Regions from separate parts of the Homo sapiens genome. Here region 2 is linked to region 1. Evidence: promoter capture Hi-C in 16 types of primary human blood cells and fetal thymus (Javierre and others, 2016). All regions are on one chromosome and are shown on one strand. The core of a region is centred on a gene start or on the middle of the fragment in contact, and the rest is flanking DNA. Distances in the headings are between cores, read along the strand shown. Region 1 holds the start of TTC23 (tetratricopeptide repeat domain 23). Region 2 holds the start of SPATA41 (spermatogenesis associated 41).

Region 1 (3,135 bases), core at 636-3,135:
GAAACCAGGACTTGCCTGCAAATGGGCACAAAGTATTTTTTTAGGATGATGAAAATTTTCTAAATTTTCTAGGATGATGAAAATTTTCTAAATTTTCTAGGATGATGAAAATTTTCTAAATTTTCTAGGATGATGAAAATTTTCTAAAATTGGAATGTGGTGATGGTTGTGATTTTCTAAAACAATCATTGAGTTATATCCTTAAGACAAATGAACTTTATAATATATAAATTATACTTCATTAAAGCTGTTAAAAATAGCTATGAAACCACAACGCAGTTTTATGTGTAATTCTGGTTTTTATACATATTATGACAAGACTTTTATAAAGACGGGGCAACCATGACTCCCCAAGACAGTGTGGCAGCGGTCCCCAAAAATCTTAAAGAAGTAAACTCAATGCTTTCGAAGACTACAAAGAAGTGCATCAAAATTTATATTATTCAACAATGATAAGGTAAATGTATTCGGGTAAGAAGCATGGTTACTAACCTGTGTGCCAGTATTTACACAGCATGGGGCCCCTTAGCTTCTGGTCTCTGCTCTGGTCTAGCCATCTTAAATTCCACTGTCAGTTTTATTGTCTTCAAATATTACTTTCATAAGGGGTGCCTCCTGTTCCAAACACAGGACCCAAACCCCTGATTTTGGGAATTCCGGCTCTTTATATTTCTCATGCTGCTTTTTAAAATTTGTAACCAAAGTTTCCAAATGAACCTTCTGCCGCAGTCAGAACCAACTCTTCCTCAGGCTGCATGTATTTGCTAACAACTCACTCACTAGTAGGGATGCCACTTCCCTTATTTTTCTCTCTGAAATTCTGCCCATTGCTCAGGCCCAAATTGAGTCTTACCCATACTGTGAAGCCTTCTCTGAATAATTCATCTCACATTGAGCTGAGCTCCTGAAGCACCTGTGCTCTACAACAGTCATCCGGGCATTAAGAACTGTTCAGAAGTTTTAGTTTAAATGTTCTGAGCCTCATTTGTCCCTGCTCTTGAGGGGCTGGATTTTATTACTTTATATTCCCCTATATGGATTAACACAGGCAACTTAAGAAATAGTCATGTTCATCAACGTTTCCTTGATAAATTCTTTTGTATTTGTTTTAATTAAAAATGTCATTTTTGAAATATGATTGCTGGATTTTTTTGAGAATTTACCCTTACATGCTGATTCTGCTTCAGGTATCTGTAGTATGTTTTGTTCAGCCATTAGCAGATCTGTCCCTGGAATCCCTAATCCACAAATATACACAAAATTTGGGTTCAAGCAACTCTATTTTCTCCTATATCTTTTAATAGATATATTATCTATTATGCCAGGTATGACAATATATAAACAAAAATATCCATATAAAAATTACAATATTACTAAATGTCCTTCTAAATCCACACTTAAGCAACAATAACGAAGCACAGTTTCTTAAAGTAGAAAATGATCTATAGTTAATCTTATTATCTTGCCTCCTTTACCTTTCAAAAATCCACTGATAATCTGGGCATGATGCTTTCAAACTTCACCCTAAAGAGAAAAATGCTCTCTGAACACTCTTCTTCCTGCTGTCTTTAAATTGTGCCTGTATTTTCTCTGCTTTTCCTTTGACACTCAATCACTCCTTTAAAACTTGTAAAAAACCGGAAAAGTTTCTGTAACTCTCCAATCTCCAACTATGTCGTAAAATCCCTTGCCAGTTTACCCAGTCTGCTGGAGAGGCTCACCGTTTCTTTTTCGAGCGAATTACACAGTTGTCTTGGCAGCGTGATTTGCCCTCTGGTTCCTGCTTTATCAGTTTGGTGATTCTTTGTACAGATTGATAACCATGAAAAAGTCTAAAGTAGGGCAGTTCCGGAGCAGCCTTTTCCCATAAAGCAAGCGGGTACCTCACAAAACTCCAGGCAAAAGAATGAATGATAGAGCACTCACCAATAGCGAGTGGAGAAGAGTATTTTGTCGAAGTTTGCAAACCAATCTTTGGGAGCCAGAGGTGGGAATTTTAAAATGAGGTCTTTTCCTTGGAATTTTCTTAAAGTGGTATCGTTGCCTGTTGATATTGAAGTTTGTCAAAGAACGTGAAATCACCAGCTTAGAGGATTTTTTTCCCCTTTAAGAGAGACAAAACGTGCGAATTGATTCTCTACAAATTGTGAGAACTTCAAGAGTGGGGTCATAAAGTATTATCAAATATAATCACTTGGTAACTTTTGTGTCAATGTGGGGAGGAGGTGAAGGTTATTTTAACATGATTCATTTTTCATGATCAAATATCAGATATTAATCACTGAAAAACAGTATTCCCCATTAAAAAAAAGAAATGAAAACTAAGAGGCTAACATTGTTTTCAAAAAACTGTTCTACTGTTAATCTTTTTTCTTTTTTGGGGGGTGTAACTCTTCATATATTAGCAGCAAGTCTTATTATTTGGGCTGACCATTAAACACCGTATCTTTGTTTTTACACAAAATGTGGATTTCCTCATTTTAAGACCAGCAAAAAATTTCTGAGTGCCACGAATTCTTAGGTATTCCGAAACTATCTTAGAAATACATGACATATACCAACCATGCTGTATACCTGAATAGCTCTTGAAGACCAGATTTAATAGATAACTGATAATTTTTATTATAACTCATACCTTGTTTTAAAACCAATGTTTTTTATTTAATATAACTCTGCTTTCTAGGTTATTCGTCTCTATGAATAATTAAGTCAGCAACTGTAAAAACTACTTCATTATAAAGTTAAAGTTCCTTGACAAGGAGCCTCGCAAACTCATAGACAGGCTTTCCACAGAACAAAAAATATCAGCGGTTGTAGTAGAGGATTATACTTTAAAATCTTCATTTCAGAAGGAAATTTGTCATATTAATGAGACACTTTAAAAAGTGTCTTTTAAAAATGTTTCCGAACTATGCTTCCAAGTATTTTTAACAGCATAAAGCCCTCTTTCATGCTATTTCGCTGACATAATAATTTTCGTCTTGAAGAAATACATATTGACGGCCTACTCAGTCAGGCTAGGAAGTGTCATTGTATTTAACTCTCTAAATTGTTCCTGACCTTTTTAGCAATCTTTACTCAAAATAAACCTTGGGTGTTTGAAGGGCAGAGACTAGGTTACGTCCTCCTCATCTT
Region 2 (3,135 bases), core at 388-2,887, 1.1 Mb after region 1:
AGAGGACTGAGATCTGGAGGCAGAGGGCAGGAATTAAAAACAAGACAAACAAGAGCCTTATACAGGCAGTGTCTTTCTGAGTCTGATCCCTGTTGTCTTGAGAGCTGCGGTGAGGGAAAGTCGTCTTCAGAGCCCTCAGGGTCAAAGCAGTTTGTTACCCTTGAGATAGACAAAGCTCCTAACCTCTCCAGCTTTTTGCCGACAGCTCGATTCTGATGGGCACTGACCTTTTCCGACCCTGTTTTCAGGAGCCGACTCCTGGCAGGTTGGTTGTAGGGGCCCTCTTGAGTGCTTCACACACAGCAGTCCTGTTGGGGTGAAGGTCACCGTCACTGTGATAATTGTTGTCGTCGTTGAAACCACCCAGCCCGAAAGCAGCATGGGCTGTGCCCAGAGCCGCCGTGCCAGAAGCCCACGCTTAGAAATAGAGGGCCGAAGACCAAAGAGGACTGCGGGTTCTTGGGCCAAACGTGACCCTCTCAAATCCCCCAACTCGGGGATTTCGTTAGCTGGGGACTGGTGTGCCCGGGTTCCAAGACCCCTGCGTAGACTCTGTCTATAGGTGGAAGAAGGCCTTTGCCCCGAGGCATCCAGAGGTAACGGTGAGAGGAACAAGGGCACGTGGGGGATCCCACCACAGCCTCCCCTGAGACCCTCTTCACGCTGGTTGCAGGAGTAGCCAACCCCGCTCCCTGGCAGCCCGTGAGATGCCACATCCCCTCCAGCAGGGGGCGGCCGGCATCGGTCCCGTCTTCCTAAACCGGCGTTGGTGGGAAATGCCGGCACCAGCTCCCTCCCCGCTCCAGAGCCCTGTTTTCCCCATTTGTATTTCACTACTTTCCTGTTGAGCTTGGATTCCAGCCTCAAATTCCGCGATTTGGCCGGCATCCTAATCCCCGAGTGACTCTTGCCAACCACTCTCTGTGGGGCCTGTGTGCTTCCTCCTGGGTTCTGGGGCGCTGGCGGCGTCCGCTTCACCGGGAACGGGAGCCCCAGCCTCCCGAGGCCTTCCTGCCTGGCTCTGGGAATGGCCACTGTCCAGAAAGCCCCGCGGCCGTCCATGCTCGCTCGCTCAGTCAGGCCCTTGTGGGGATATTGCAGAACGAGTCCGAGTTACTATCCCTTTAAATACAGGCGTTTCGGCCTAGCTGCCGCCGGTCCAATCCGCAGCGCTTCCGTGCCCCACTTTCCCGCGTCAGCCTGGCTCCGGCCTCCACCAGGGGGTGCTAGTGAGATCCCAGCCAGCCTCAGAGCTGAGCGTCCAGGGCCTTCAAATGTCCCCATCCTTGAAAAGGCAACTCCAGTGGCATCTTCTGCGGGGAGACCAGAAGCAGCATCTGACGAGGAGACAGCACTGGCGGTCCCGACACAACTGAATCGGCAGGATGAGGGCCCTTAGTGTTAGGCACCGGCGGAGCTGCATCCCACCCCGTCTCGTCCCCTGAGAACAGCTGTGAGAAGCCGCCTATTTTTCATCGTTCTGCAACACACCTTTCCCTTCCTTGGGATATTTCTCCTCTTTCAGCATTGCCGCATCAGGGTTCCAAAGCCCCGTTTCTCTCCTAGTTCTTTCTTTGCTCAAGAAAAGCAGCTTGTCTGATAAACTAAGCTATGTATGATTCGCTGCCAGTACAGACTGAAAAACAAAATAAACTCCCAATTCACAGTCCTCCGTTGCGTAACAGTGAGCAGACGTTCTGAGAAATGCATCGTCAGGCAATTGCATCATTGTGCAAACAATATAGAGTGTACTTACCCAAACCTAAACAGCACAGCCTACTACACACCCAGGCTGTAGGCTGTGCTTCTAGACTACAAACCTGTACAGTGTGGTACTGAACACTGTAGGCAACTGTAACACAATGGTAAGTATTTGTGTATCTAAACATAGAAAAGATACAGTAAAAATATGGTATGAAAGATTGAAACTGGTGCACCTGCCTAGGGCACCTACCGTAAGCTTGGAGCTTACGGGACTGAAAGTTGCTCTGGGTGAGTCAGTAAGTGAGTGGTGAGTAAATACGAAGGCCTAGGACATTACTGTACACTACTGTAGACTTTAAAACCCTGTACACTAGGCCCACACTCAATTTATTTTTAAAAATTTTCTTTCCTTCAATAATATATTCACTTTAGCTTACTGTAACTTTTCTACCTTAAGAATTTTTAAATTTTTTGACTCTTTTAATAACAGCTTGAATACACAAACACATTGTACAGCTATACAAAAATATTTTCATTCTTCATATCCTTATTCTATAAGCTTTTTTCCTACTTTTGAAGTTGTTTATTTTTTACATTTTAAACTTTTTGTCAAATATTAAGACACAAACACACATTAGCCTAGGCCTATACAGGGTCAGGATCATCAATACCACTGTCTTCTGCTTTCACATCTTGTCCCACTGGAAGGTCTTCAATGGTAATAACACACATTCTTAGTAAATGCAAATAGTCATGGCTCAGACTGATATAGTAATGATAGACTATTCAATATGTGGTATTGGACAGCTGTTTATATATTTGTACGAACCTAAGTTAGATTCTGTGGTGGTTCAAAAATATATCCTCTAATTATGACCTGCTTCCCTTCAACAGGTGTACCTAATTCCTCTGCCTAGAAAGTGTGCTGGAATTACTGCCTGGCTTCTGATGAATAGGGCGTATTGAGAGTGATGCTTTGTGAGTTCTGAGGCTAGGTCATAGAAAGGATTGAACTTATTCCTGAATGTTGCTCTTGGATCACTTGCTTTTTTGGGAACCACCAGCCATGTCATGAGGACACTCAAGCAACCCTGCAGAGAAGCACATGTGTGGAGAGGCACTTCTTGGAAAGGAGGCCAACTTGCCAGAACCAACTAATTTGTCATGTGAGTGAGTCATTTTGGAAGCAGATCCTCTACCCTCAGTCAGGCCTTCCGATGATTTCAGCCCCCAGCCTTTGAGTCTGCCCCAAACACCATGAGTAGAGACAAGCCCTTCCCACTGTGTCCACCCTGGCTGAATTCCAGACCGTTAAAAAAACAAGAGAAAATAAATTATTATTAGTGTTTTGAGTCACTAAGTTTTGGACTAATTTGTTATGCAGCAATAGCTAACAACTACAGAGTCATAACACAAACTAAAATTAATTCT

What was found. Contacts are between HindIII fragments. The CHiCAGO score rates a contact against its expected background, and 5 or more counts as called.
Region 2: a contact is called between the fragment with the promoter of SPATA41 here and the fragment with the promoter of TTC23 in region 1, in 3 of 17 cell types (naive CD8 T cells, activated CD4 T cells and fetal thymus). The highest score is 9.0, in naive CD8 T cells.

Annotation. Positions count from the first base shown.
Region 1 is chr15:99,247,696-99,250,830 of GRCh38, forward strand. It overlaps TTC23 (tetratricopeptide repeat domain 23), which reads right to left and starts at 1,886. Exons shown (of 14, transcript NM_001288615.3): 1 at 1,476-1,886. The HindIII fragment of the contact is 13,098 bases long and covers 1-3,135 here.
Region 2 is chr15:100,349,081-100,352,215 of GRCh38, forward strand. SPATA41 (spermatogenesis associated 41) reads right to left here and starts at 1,638. Exons shown (of 2, transcript NR_028139.1): 1 at 1-1,638. LOC105371021 (a long non-coding RNA gene) reads left to right here and starts at 526. Exons shown (of 3, transcript XR_007064777.1): 1 at 526-602; 2 at 1,295-1,865; 3 at 2,599-3,064. RefSeq lists an enhancer at 806-1,065. The HindIII fragment of the contact is 2,620 bases long and covers 1-1,958 here.